Regions from separate parts of the Homo sapiens genome. Here regions 2, 3 and 4 are each linked to region 1. Evidence: promoter capture Hi-C in human tissues and cell types (Jung and others, 2019). All regions are on one chromosome and are shown on one strand. The core of a region is centred on a gene start or on the middle of the fragment in contact, and the rest is flanking DNA. Distances in the headings are between cores, read along the strand shown.

Region 1 (3,257 bases), core at 522-3,021:
ATAAATCCCAAATATTAGCTTAAAAATGCTAGGACAGTACAGTGTGCAACCCATTAATAGAGTGTGAAATCAGTTTTAGTGTGCAGTGACCAGCAGTTTTTTAAAGAGAAGTAGAAACATGTAGTGTGTGTGTTATTATACGAAATATTTGTTTCCATGTAAATGTGGGTTTATATGTTATATATTTATATGTTTATATAGCATATAAATTTATACACTTACACTTATTTTTGTATGTGGATATATACATATGTTTTTTCTGGGTCACAATGTGAAATGTATTATTGTGGGTCAGGTGGAAAAAATTTTCAGAAGCATTGCAACACACAATTCTTTTCTTCCTTTGCTGATCTATGTTGAAAGTCATATATATATATATATTTTTGAGATGGAGTCTGGCTCTGTTGCCCAGGCTGGAGTGCGGTGGCATGATCTCTGCTCACTGAAACATCTGCCTCCTAGGTTCAAGTGATTTTCCTGTCTCAGCCTCCGAAGTAGCTGGGACTACAGGTGCTCCATCACCACGCTGGGGTAATTTTTTTTTTTTTTTTTTTTTTTTGAGACGGAGTTTCGCTCTTATTGCCTAGGCTGGAGTGCAATGGCACGATCTCAGCTCACCACAACCTCCGCCTCCCAGGTTCAAGCAATGCTCCCGCCTCAGCCTCCCAAGTAGCTGAGATTACAGGCGCACACCACCACGCCTGGCTAATTTTTGCATTTTTAGTAGAGGCGGAGTTTCACCATGTTGGTCAGGCTGGTCTCGAACTCCTGGCCTCGTGATCTGCCTGCCTCGGCCTCCCAAAGTGCTAGGATTACAGGCATGAGCCATCGTGCTCGGCCTAATTTTTATATTTTTTGTAGAGTTGGGGTTTAGTCATGTTGCGTCAGGCTGGTCTCGAACTCCTGACCTCAGGTGATCCGCCCGCCTCGGCTTCCCAAAGCGCTGGGATTACAGGCATGAGACACCACGCCCGGCTCTGACTTTATTTTTAAAGAGGTTATAAAGTGCTATATCTTTGTAAAATATTTTTATTTCCAGCTCCTAGCACAATATCTGGTAAATAGAAGTTGCCAAATAAACGTTGATCGAACTAGGAACAATAAATAGTATGAAGACATATGGACTAGCGGTTCTTCATATATAGACTAGTGGTTCTTTTCTGAGTGATCAGACTTCCTTTGAGAAGTTGTTGAAAGTTTTGGACCCTCTTCCCAGAAGAAGTGCCGAGCACTCAGTTCTGAACGGATTCCAGAGAATTCCTGAATCCCCGTGCATTGCCTCTCTAAGGTTCTATGGGTCCCCCAAGTTAAGAACCTGAAAGGAAGGTGTTTAACTTCTGACAGCGGAGGTGTGAGGTCAAGAGCGGAAGAAAGTTTGGGGTTAGATCACTTTTAAAATTCTCCCACAAATCCTGGGATTCTAGAATTTTGGTTCTGGGAAGGCACAGGCAAAGATTTAAAGAGTACAGTTTGGTACCACTAGTGTCAAAGAATAGTGGGAACGATTTTAACACACGTTATGCCATTTGAATGCCATGGCAATCCTGTGATGATGAAATTTAAGTTCTGAGGGGCTCAGTGGCTTGCTTGTCTAAAAGGAAGGAGCTGGTAGGCTCTGGAAATCAGAGCCTACCAGAATCACATTTCTAAATTTTTGGCGAACAAGTAGGGCAGGGCAAATAAAGTGGAGAAAGGGGCGGGGCCGCGCACGCGCACAGTTGCATTGGCGCCGACGTCTCTGCCTTTCCTCTCGCAGCCACCCTTCCTCTCAGACCAGTACGGTGGCCGACGGGAGTCAGACGCTGGGGATGAATGAAGGTGCTGGGTGCAGGTTGAAAAAGTCTCCCGCTTTTCCGTTCCTACAGTCCCGGTTCTGCCTTTGTGTGGTGCCCCCATCCTTCCCACTTTGTATCGACAACCCGGTTGGTCCCGGCGTCTGAGTTCTTGGTGTCCGAGTCGACTCGAGGCACAACTAGGGTTTGGGGTTCCGGATATCGCCTAGGCCCAACATCGGACCGCGCTCTCGATTTCTGCCGCGTCCCGCCTCTAGGACGCGGAGTCCGTGTGCGGTTCCGTGAGGCTGGAGGGTAGATCTTAAGGTATGAAGCGTCCGCTTCTCTGGCCTCAGCGCGTTCCTAGGTCCGTGTCGGAGCCTGGCCAGACTTTGCTCAGCCTGAGGGACTTATTGGTTCTAGTTGCGCCCGGGGCGAGACGGAGGAGCACGCAGGTCTTGGCTCCTCTGCTCCAGTCAGCCCGCCCCTCTGTTAAAAGAGCAGCCCCTCCCTGAAAGCAAAGCAGTTTTTACCCACGACTTTTACCCACGCTGCTGCTAGTCGGTCGGCCTTGAGAGGGGACTGCTTTGGCTGCCAGCTCACTGCCTTTTTGTTTACTTTTTGTGCCTTGGATGATTCCTGGAGACAGAGAAGTGCGCTAATGAGACGCGTCTTTCTCACATAGCACCCACACATCTGCTTTTTACCCGGTAACACAGGGGACATAGGATAGTGTTGTGGCCTCCAGAGCCTTGAATCTGGCATTGGTTCTGCCCAGTGATTTGCTAGTTTTTCCACCGACTCATGGAGGGTGAGAAAGAGAAGCCCAATAGTTCTTGATGTATATCGGGGTAGGCATGTGAAACTATCGGGGTATGAAAGAAAGCACTTAACTATGACCATTCACTTTTGTTTACATTTTGTGGAGCTCATGTGACTGATATAGTGGAGAAAGTCTTGGACTGGGATTTTAGTAGATGAGGATTCAGCCTTGGATTGTGCCTCTAACTAGTAATACTATTTTGGGCGTGTTACTTCATCTCTCTGGGCTTCATATTCCTTCTTTGTAAAATATGAGTATTAGAGCAGAAGATTCCTGAGGCTGGAAGAGACATTAATATACTCTGTTTTCTTTCCCATTTCCCAGGTGACAGTATAAACCTAGGGAGACAGAGAAGCCTTGTCTTGATTGTGCCAGGAACATTGCCAACATAGGGACCTATTAAAGATACACCACATTTTTCAGGGTTTTTAGAAAGTTGGGTGTTCATACATGTGAAAGTTAAACTCCTACTTTCATTTGTATTTTTACCATTAGGATCAACAAACAGTAATAATGACTGAATGTACAAGTCTTCAGTTTGTCAGCCCTTTTGCTTTTGAGGCAATGCAGAAGGTGGATGTTGTTTGCCTGGCATCTTTAAGTGATCCAGAATTAAGACTTCTTCTGCCCTGTTTGGTACGGATGGCACTTTGTGCACCTGC
Region 2 (3,257 bases), core at 302-2,801, 62 kb before region 1:
TGATTTAGAATAAGCTCAACTATGATTGTGTTGTGACATAGAATAAATAGGAGTAAAATGTTTTAAAGTTTTCACCTGTAAAATGAGGAGATAAGGTCATTGCCTAAGGTCCTTCAGATCTAAAACCACAATTTCTAAATTAAACTTTACTGGAATTTTGCTGTCATTTTCTTCCCACACACACAAGTTAAGAGAGCTGTTCTGAGGCCACTAATTCAACAAATACTTAGTTAGCACCTGTTATGTGTAGGTACTGTTTGGGTATTGGGGACACAGTGGTCAAGACTCCACTTTGAATATGTCTGACTTAAACTCCTTGTGAATGGAATAGAGAGACATAGTATAGTAATTCATTTACAAAACCCATTTAACTTGTAAAATAATTTTTTTAATTGACAAGTAAAAATTATATATATTTATGGTATACAACATGATGTTTTGGGGGGGAGTGTGTATATATATATATATATATATATACACAGTGCGCCAAGTGTGTGTGTGTATATATATATATAGTGAGACCCTATACATATATACACACATACTAAAAAATATATATATATTTACATTTTTTTAACATTTTACTCATATTCTGTGTCACAACACAGTTACAGTTTATCTTATTCTAAATCATTTTTCAGTTATAATTTAAACAATGGAGACTGGTATGAGGAGAATTGTTAGTCTCCTATTGTAACCCCACAACTATAAGCTTGAAAGTACTGTCAAGTCTTCAGTGAGCAAACACTTGGAATTATTTTACATATATATGTGTGAGTGTGTATATATATGTGTGTGTGTATATGTGTGTGTATGTATATATAGTGGAATGGGTAGATCAAGCTGTTTAACATATGCATTACCTTACATACCTTTTTTGTGCGTGTGGGTGAGAATACTTAAAATCTACTTTCAGCAATTTGCAAGTATACAATATGTTATTATTCACTATGATGTACAGCAAAATCCATTTAACTTTTGATGTGGGCAAAGTAAGTCATCTTCTGGTGTGTGTTTTCGATGACAAAGTTTTAATATTTGGAATAAATAGAGGGTCAGTCTGTGGATAACCAAAAATAAGAAAAAAATCTATCTGAACAATGAACAAATGGTCTAGGTAGCTTGAAAATTCAACAGTTTGGATTCTTTGCCGGAGTGATCTACAGATTCAGAGCAATCCCTATCAAAATTCCAATGACACTTTTCACAGTAATAGAAAAAACAATCCTAAAATGTGTATAGGGTCACAAAAGGCCCTGAATGGCTAAAGCAGTCTTGAGCAAAAAGAACAAAGTTGGTGGCATCACACTACCTGATTTGAAAGTCTGCTGCAAGGCCAAGTGTCATGGCCCATGCCTATAATCTCAGTATTTTGGGAGGCCACAGTAGGAGAATTGCTTGAGGCCAGGAGTTCAAGACCACCTTGGCCAACGTAGTGAGACCCTATCTGTGTAAAAACAATAAATAGGCCAGGTGCAGTGGCTCATGCCTGTAATCCGAGCACTTTGGGAGGCCAAGGTGGGCAGATCACCTGAGGTCAGGAGTTTGAGACCAGCCTGGTCAACATGGCAAAACTCCGTTTCTACTAAAAATACAAAATTAGCCAGGTGTGGTGGCGTGCACCTGTAATCCCATCTATTTGGGAGGCTGAGGCAGAATTGCTTGAATCTAGGAGTCGGAGGTTGCAGTGAGCCAGGATCGCTCCATTGCACTCCAGCCTGGGTGACAAGAGTGAAACTCCATCTCCAATCAATCAATCAATCAAATGTTAAATATTTTAAAAATTAAAATATATGGCTGGGCGTGGTGGCTCACGCCTGTAATCCCAACACTTTGGGAGGCCAAGGCAGGTGGATCATGAGGTCAGGAGATTGAGACCATCCTGGCTAACACAGTGAAACCCCGTCTCTACTAATAATACAAAAAATCAGCCGGGTGTGGTGGCACACACCTGTAGTCCCAGCTACTTGGGAGCTGAGGCAGGAGAATCGCTTGAATCCGGGAGACAGAGGTTGCAGTGAGCCGAGATCACGCCACTGCACTCCAGCCTGGGCGACAGAGCGAGACTCTGTCTCAAAAAAAAAAAAAAAGCTGGATTCATGGAAGTAGAAAGTAAAGTGGTGATTACCAGAGACTGGGGGTAGGGGAATGGGGATGGCCAGGGGACACAAAATTTCAGTTGGGAGGAATAAGTTCAAGAGATCTATTGTAAATTGTGGTTACTACAATTAATAATAGATTGTATATTTGAAAATTCAGAGTAGATTTTAAGTGTTCCCAACATAAAAAAAAGTACCTGTATATGAGGTAATGAATATGTTCAGTAGCTTGATTTAGTCATTTCACAATACATACATTAAAAAAAAAAACGAAAAAACTCGGAAACAAATTGGGTTGTTTGGGCTACTTACCTATGCTAGGATGTTCCCTGGGATATAGGAAACATGTAAGCCCCTTCTTGTGCCTGTAGTTCAGCTTTCTCAAAATGTGAGACATATGCTACATTCTGGAGTATCTCCAAGGTGGAGCTTCAAAATCTTGGTTTTTAGTAAGTATCTTAGATGATTTTTACTTTTAAAATTTCAAAGGCACAACTCTAGTGAATCTTTAGAACTGACACACCAGAGACACTGGGGAAGTGACTTTTATCTTTCTGAAAACGAGGACTCTCAAGTCAGTTAACAGAGAATGATTTGGAAGGTTATGTATCAAATTGTTTTTCTTGTGCAGGAATATATTGGGAGTTTAATTTTCATTGTAATTGGTATCATGTTTTTGTTACCCTAAAACAGGGCGAGAGGGTAGGAAAATAAAATTGTAGTACGGTAACTAAGCGGTAATATTTATCTAGTACTTAAGCACCTAGTACTGGGCGAAGCACATTACCAACATTCTATTACATTTTATTCTTGGTATTGAGGCACAGAGACATTAAGTAATTTGTCGAGGGTCATACTGTTAGTGGTGGAGCTGGGATTCAGATTAAAGTCTGTCTGGCCCAAGAGTCAGCTCTTGATCATTGTTCTGTTCTTCGTTTACATTTCAGAAAGATAGAAAAATACAGGCCAGGTGAGGTGGCTCACACCTGTAATCCCAGCACTTCAGAAACAGAGGTGGGCAGATTGCTTGAGCCCAGAAGCTCAAGACCAGTCTGGGCAATATGGCAAAACCCCAACTCGAGGAAAAAAAAAAAAATTAACTGGGCATAGGGTCACGTGCCTGTAGTCCCAGCTACTGGGGTGGGAGGATTGCTTGAA
Region 3 (3,257 bases), core at 354-2,853, 41 kb before region 1:
GATTAAATAGTACAGACTGTGGGGATAGATTTCTTGGGTTTAAATTCCTACTCTGCTACTTCTTGTGAAATGCTAGAGAAATTGCTTAACTTCCTCATTTATGTTTTCTCATCTCTAAAATGAAGTTAATAATAGTTTCTGCCTTATGTTTTTTGTGAGGATTAAATGAGTTAGTACATGCAAAGAGCTTTGAACAGTACCTAGCACATAGAATTATCATTGTTTGCTATTATTAATTTTAAATTGCTTTTTTAATGAGAAAGAGCATCTTTTTATGTGTTAGAGATAGTTTTGTTTTGTAATCTCCATGTTCTTAACCCATTTTTCTATTAGGTTGTTGGTCATTTTCTTTTAAAAATTTTTTTATTATGGTAAGAACACTCACCAGGCATGACGACTCACGCCTGTAATCCCAGCACTTTGGGAGGCCGAGGTGGGCAGATCACTTGAGGTCAGGAGTTTGAAACCAGCCTGGCCAACATGGTGAAACCCCATCTCTACCAAAAATTCAAAAATTATCCCGGTATGGTGATGTGTGCCTATAATCCCAGCTACTCAGGAGGCTGAGGTGAGATAATTGCTTGAACCCAGGAGGTGGAGGTTGGAGTGAGTGGAGATCGCACCACTGCACTGCAGCCTAGGCAACAGAGCAAGACTGTCTCAAAAACAAAACAAAAAAAAACTAAAAGAAAGAACACTTAACATGAGATCTGCGCTCTTAGTAAGGTTTTTTCTTTTTTCTATTTTTTAAATTATATTATTTTTAAATGTATAAATAAGGATGGTGTCTCACTATGTTGCCTAGGCCTCAAACTCCTGGGCTCAAGTAATCCTCCCACCTCAGTCTCCCAAGGTGCTGAGATTACAGGCATGAGCCACAGCACCTGGCCTACAGTGTATTTTTATGCCAATTTTTTGTTTGTTTGTTTTTGAGATGGAGTTTTGCTCTTTTTGCCTGGGCTGACGTGCACTGGTGCAATCTCAGCTCACCGCAACCTCCACCCCCTGGGTTCAAGCAATTCTGCTTCAGCCTCCTGAGTAGCTGGGATTACAGGCATGCACCACCATGCCCGGCTAATTTTGTATTTTTAATAGAGACAGGCTTTCTCCATGTTGGTCAGGCTGGTCTTAAACTCCCAGCCTCAGGTGATCTGCCCACCTCGGCCTCCCAAAGTGCTGAAATTACAGGTGTGAGCCACTGCACCCAGCCCCATGCCAAAAATTTAAATGCAGACCAGACGTGGTGGCTCCTGCACGTAATCCCAGCACTTTGGGAGGCTGAGGAAGGAGGATCACTTGAGCTCAGGAGTTTGAGTCCACCCTGGGCAACACAGCAAGATCCCATCTCTACAAAAACTTTAAAAATTAGCTAAGCATAGTGGCACACACCTGTAGTCCCAGCTATTCGGGAAGCTGAGGACAGAGGATTGCTTGAGCCCAGCAGGTTAATGCTGCAGTAAGGCGTGATTGTTCCACTGCAGTCTAATCTGGGCAATAGAGCAAGACCCTGTCTCAAAAAAATAAGTAAATAAAAAGACTTGTTTAGGAAATTCCTTAATGTTGAAAAGTCTTGACCACTGGCATTAAGTATTTTTGTCTCTAATAAAATATTTTCACTAATAATGACTTCATTAACTTTTGACATTTAAATAAAAAGGAGGCCGGGCATGGTGGCTCACACCTGTAATCCCAGCACTTTGGGAGGCCGAGGTGGGCGGACACAAGGTCAGGAGCTCGAGACCATCCTGGCTAACACGGTGAAACCTCGTCTCTACTAAAAAATACAAAAAATTAGCCAGGCGTGGTGGCAGGCACTTGCAGTCCCAGCTACTCAGGAGGCTGAGGCAGGAAAATGGCGTGAACGCGGGAGGCGGAGCTTGCAGTGAGCCGAGATGGCGCCACTGCACTCCAGTCTGGGCGACAGAGCGAGACTCTGTCTCAAAAAATAAATAAATAAATAAATAAATAAAAAGGAGACATGTCTTGTTTTTAAGTGTTTTCTTAAAATACATCTTTCTTATTTAGGAACTGATGAATCCCCAGAACCACTGCCAATCCCCACATTTTTGTTGGGTTATGATTATGATTATCTGGTGCTTTCTCCATTTGCTCTTCCTTATTGGGAGAGACTTATGCTGGAACCCTATGGATCTCAAAGAGATATAGCCTATGTTGTACTGTGTCCAGAAAATGAAGCCTTGTTAAATGGAGCAAAAAGCTTTTTTAGAGATCTTACTGCAATATATGAGGTAGGTGTTTAAAAAGAGATGACATTTTAAAACTACCTTACGATTTGTATTGTTGTATATACAGCATACTGGGCAGTTCAGTTGATTGGGACACAGTGATGATGTCAGATTAGATGTTTATTTCTCATACTAGCCAGTTACATTCTTTGCTGAGTTTGACCCAGTCTGTTAGATGTGTATGCCGTGGGTCAGAGTGGCTATCCCCCTATAGGAGGAAGAAACATTGAGGGCATATAGATATATATCCCTTTTAATGTGGCTTTTTCTAAAACAAAGGGTAACAATGTTAAATAGCCAGGAAAAAAGTTACATTTACAAAAATTCTAGTCTTTATTCTCTAGGATTTCAGGTAGTGACACTAGGCCTCACTTTCCTCATATGTAAAATAAATCTATGCTAGATATCACTAAGGTCCATTTCAGGTCTGAAATTCTTGCCTCTTCTTTTAAGTTATAATTCTCACATATCCATCACCAGGCGCAATAATTGTAAATTATAAGTGTTATGGGACATAAAGTCTTACTTTATTATTCCCTCCTTTTTCCACAAAGGCTTCGAAATTTAGTCTTTAAATTTTGATTCCTTATACAATCTGAATGTTAGTGTATGTTAGTTTAGCTTCCTTTTAAAATTTTCCACATAATTACAAGGTATTTGTAGTGTGTTTTTAATAAATAAACATTTCCCAAAGGGTGTTATTTGGAATATCAGTCCGGTAAAATCCTCTCAGAGAAAAAGTTCCATAGTTAAATAGGCTTGGGGAAACATTGTATATTATATTACCTTTTAGAGATTTACAATTCATATTAGGTTTTTAAAGGCTTTGAAATTCTTACAGTAAAGAACTCTTCTAAGTTTGCTTAATCCAATGTTTTAAATTTATTTAACATTGGGCTTCTAATAACAAAAATCAGTGACTCACAGAACTAGAGGGAGAAGGTGTATAAATATATTTGTATAACAATTTTTATTTTGCTTTGATTTAGGGATATTTGTATTCATAATTCA
Region 4 (3,257 bases), core at 272-2,771, 35 kb after region 1:
CGGCCAGTTGTTGCTTTTTTGTGGCTATTAATATCTTTATTTCTATATTTTACTATCCCTCCCACCCTCAACACGCATATGCACATATACTCCTGAATTACAAGTAGTCACACAGCATGTGGGAGAATCATAAGTTATTTTTTGTCTTTAAATTTGAACCAATTGGAAGACAACTTTGAAGAGGGTCTTTAAAAGACGATTAGAGCCTATGCATGACATATTGAGAATAAATATTTCTGTTTATATTTATGTGGTGCTTTATAGTTCATATGATGTTTTTCCAAAAAGAATATTTTCCCCCCATAACAATGCTTTGAGGCAGGTATGGCAGTGTCCTGTTTTGTAGATGTGAAAAAGATTCAGAAGATAAATGACTTCTTCAAAGTCATTGAGCCCAGATTGTATGCTTCAAAATTTTATTTTATTTTTTTACCTTATCACACCACTGTGTATGTATCTATGTTTATAAACAAAAAATTAGGGAATTATATAAATCCCTAAATGTACATTTCCTCAGCATTCAAAGACAATTAAAACATGTAATAATTTATTTTCATCATTCATTTCTAGGGACCACACTTGTATTAGGTGTTGACAGTCTACTTACTAATCTCTCTTTCAAAATAATTTTATATTTAGTTCTATTATATTACTAATGCTATTTTTCCCTTTTAGGTTGTCACAGCTCATGCAGTTCGGGTCCCTGTCACCAGCAACCTGAGTGCCAACATTACTGGATTTTTGCCTATTCATTGTATTTACCAGCTTCTCAGGAGCCGTTCCTTTACCAAGCACAAAGTGTCAATAAAAGTATGCCCCTACAAATAAAACAAAATAAAAGCATGCCCCTACATTTTTATATATATATTTTTTTTCTTTTGAGATGGAGTCTTGCTCAGTCACCCAGGTTGGAGTGCAGTGGTGCAGTCTTGGCTCACTGTAACCTCTGCCTCCTGGGTTAAAGTGATTCTCCTGCCTCAACCTCCCAGGTAGCTGGGACTACAGGTGTGTGCCACCATGCCCGGCTAATTTTTGTATTTTTAGTAGAGACAGGGTTTCACCGTGTTGGCTGGCTGGTGTCGAACTCCTGACCTCAAGTGATATGCCTGTCTCAACCGACCAAAGTGCTGGGATTACAGGCGTGAGCCACTGTGCCTGGCCTACATTTATATTTCAAAGAACAACCTAAATTAATGCTTTCTCCCCAGTTGTATTTCAGTTTGTAGGCATTTATTGTGGGTTTTGTGTAGGAAATGTGTGGTATTAAGCTAAGTTACTAGTCATTTATATAAGTATAGTAATTAGGGATAGTAATTATAATTATATAATTATACAGTAATTTCAGATTTTTAAAACAATGTAAGATTTTCAAAATGCATAATACTCCATTTAAATTCTCAATAGTGGCACATGGCTATTTTATTAAAACTTAGAAACTGCCATTTTCTAATTTTTTTTTTTAATTTTAAAGACAGGGTCTCACTCTGTCGCCCAGGCTGTCATAGCTCACTGTAACCTCAAACTCCTGGGCTCAAGCAGTCCTCCTGCCACAGCCTCCTAAGTAGCTGGAACTACAGGTGCGAGCCACCACTCCTGGCTTTTTTTTTTTTTTTTTTTTTTTGAGATGGAGTCTCACTTTGTTGCCCAAGCTGGAGTGCAGTGGTGCTATCTCAGCTCACTGCAACCTCCGCCTCCTGGGTTCAAGTGATTCCCCTGCTTCCGCCTCCTGAGTAGCTGGTATTACAGGCTCCTGCCACCATGCCTGGCTAATTTTTTTTTTTTTTTAATTTTTAGTAGAGACAGGGTTTCACCATGTTGGCCAGGCTGGTCTCAAACTCCTGACCTCACGTGATCCACCCACCTCGGCCTCCCAAAGTGCTGGGATTACAGGCATGAACCACCGTGCCTGGCCTCATACCTGGCTTTAAAAAGTGTTTTTTTGTAGAGACAGGGTCTCGCTATTTTGCCCAGGCTGGTCTGGTCTTGAACTCCTGGTCTCAAGCAATTCTCCTACTTCGGCCTCCCGAAGTGTTGGGATTACAGGCATGAGCCACTGCAGTGGGCCTGGTTTTGTTTTACAAATTGGGGAAGCTGCCATGACTAGTATTTGTTGATTTGTCATAAGGACACCTCACACCTAACTTAGAATTTTGACATGTTTTGATTTGTCTTAGTTGGCTATATCTAACAAGTTAAAAGGCCCTCTAAAGAGAAGGTATTAAGACCCAGGAGGTAAAGTAGACTGAAACTTTTTCAGATATTTACAAAGAACAGTGAATAATATATGCATGATATATCACTTTTTAATTGTTGCTTGTTTTTTGTGATTTAGTGAGATTATTTTCCAGCCAGATTGCATCATCTGCTTTATATTTTTAGCAAGTAAAATAGCTAAGAATTAAGAGTTCACATGCACCCCCAACATTTTACATGTCCTCCATCCAATGATAGTTAAGTGATAAGTCTCCTGTAAGTGCTTTTCAGAGACATTTTCTTAGTCTATCTGAGGGTTTGCTGTGAAGGACCTATCTCTCTCTCTCCAAATTCCTATCTAACGTGAGCTCTCCCATGACGACACACATGGTGCTCTAAATACAGATATGGTAGGGACTTAAAATGTTTTTCCCACTACTTAAAAACTAATAGATTAAACCGAAAGGCAAGCTTCTAGTGGAGGGTGCACCTAAGATGATACAGATATAATGGTAGTTCATATTTTAAAATCAAAGGCAGTTATGATACTAGATAATATATTTGGAACTGCCAAAAGTTAATAGTGAGTTTTACTGATTCATAATTCATGTAAAACTGTATGTACTTTTATAATTTTGCTTGGTTTTTCTTTTTGCCACAATTAATTCAGTGTCTATAACATTCTTTCTTAGGATTGGATTTATAGACAGCTGTGTGAAACCTCTACTCCACTTCATCCTCAATTACTTCCTTTGATTGATGTGTACATAAATTCTATACTTACTCCTGCGTCGAAATCTAATCCAGAAGCCACAAATCAGCCAGTCACAGAACAGGAGATACTCAATATTTTCCAAGGAGTCATTGGGGTAAAATAGTGGTTCTTTTATATCTATTAACTTATTTTTCTTTTAGTTCTTCTTACTTAACCCATATTTTTATTTTCCTATCAGAGGACTTCTAGGTAGTTCTGAATTTAAAATTAGATTAAATTTCCTTAGATCACCTCTAAAAATTAAAAGAATGGTATTAGTTCCAAGTAGTTTGCTAAACAGGCACTTTTT

What was found. Contacts are between HindIII fragments. The study calls those that stand out against the background at their distance.
Region 2: a fragment that was not itself captured here is called in contact with the fragment with the promoter of INTS2 in region 1 in 2 of the 25 tissues and cell types used here (H1 embryonic stem cells and mesenchymal stem cells).
Region 3: a fragment that was not itself captured here is called in contact with the fragment with the promoter of INTS2 in region 1 in 1 of the 25 tissues and cell types used here (IMR-90 fibroblasts).
Region 4: a fragment that was not itself captured here is called in contact with the fragment with the promoter of INTS2 in region 1 in 1 of the 25 tissues and cell types used here (lymphoblastoid cells).

The regions. Positions count from the first base shown.
Region 1 is chr17:61,926,496-61,929,752 of GRCh38, reverse strand. It overlaps INTS2 (integrator complex subunit 2), which reads left to right and starts at 1,771. Exons shown (of 25, transcript NM_001351695.2): 1 at 1,771-2,099; 2 at 3,091-3,257. The coding sequence starts at 3,109. RefSeq lists a silencer at 1,641-1,740. The HindIII fragment of the contact is 16,998 bases long and covers 1-3,257 here.
Region 2 is chr17:61,987,848-61,991,104 of GRCh38, reverse strand. The region is part of intron 11 of MED13 (mediator complex subunit 13); the gene reads left to right. Among named protein-coding and RNA genes, the nearest start is that of INTS2, 61 kb to the right of the region's middle. The HindIII fragment of the contact is 7,657 bases long and covers 1-3,257 here.
Region 3 is chr17:61,967,027-61,970,283 of GRCh38, reverse strand. It overlaps MED13 (mediator complex subunit 13), which reads left to right. Exons shown (of 30, transcript NM_005121.3): 18 at 2,026-2,249. Among named protein-coding and RNA genes, the nearest start is that of INTS2, 41 kb to the right of the region's middle. The HindIII fragment of the contact is 4,125 bases long and covers 1-3,257 here.
Region 4 is chr17:61,891,318-61,894,574 of GRCh38, reverse strand. INTS2 (integrator complex subunit 2) reads left to right here. Exons shown (of 25, transcript NM_001351695.2): 13 at 676-810; 14 at 2,886-3,062. Among named protein-coding and RNA genes, the nearest start is that of BRIP1, 29 kb to the right of the region's middle. The HindIII fragment of the contact is 3,437 bases long and covers 1-3,239 here.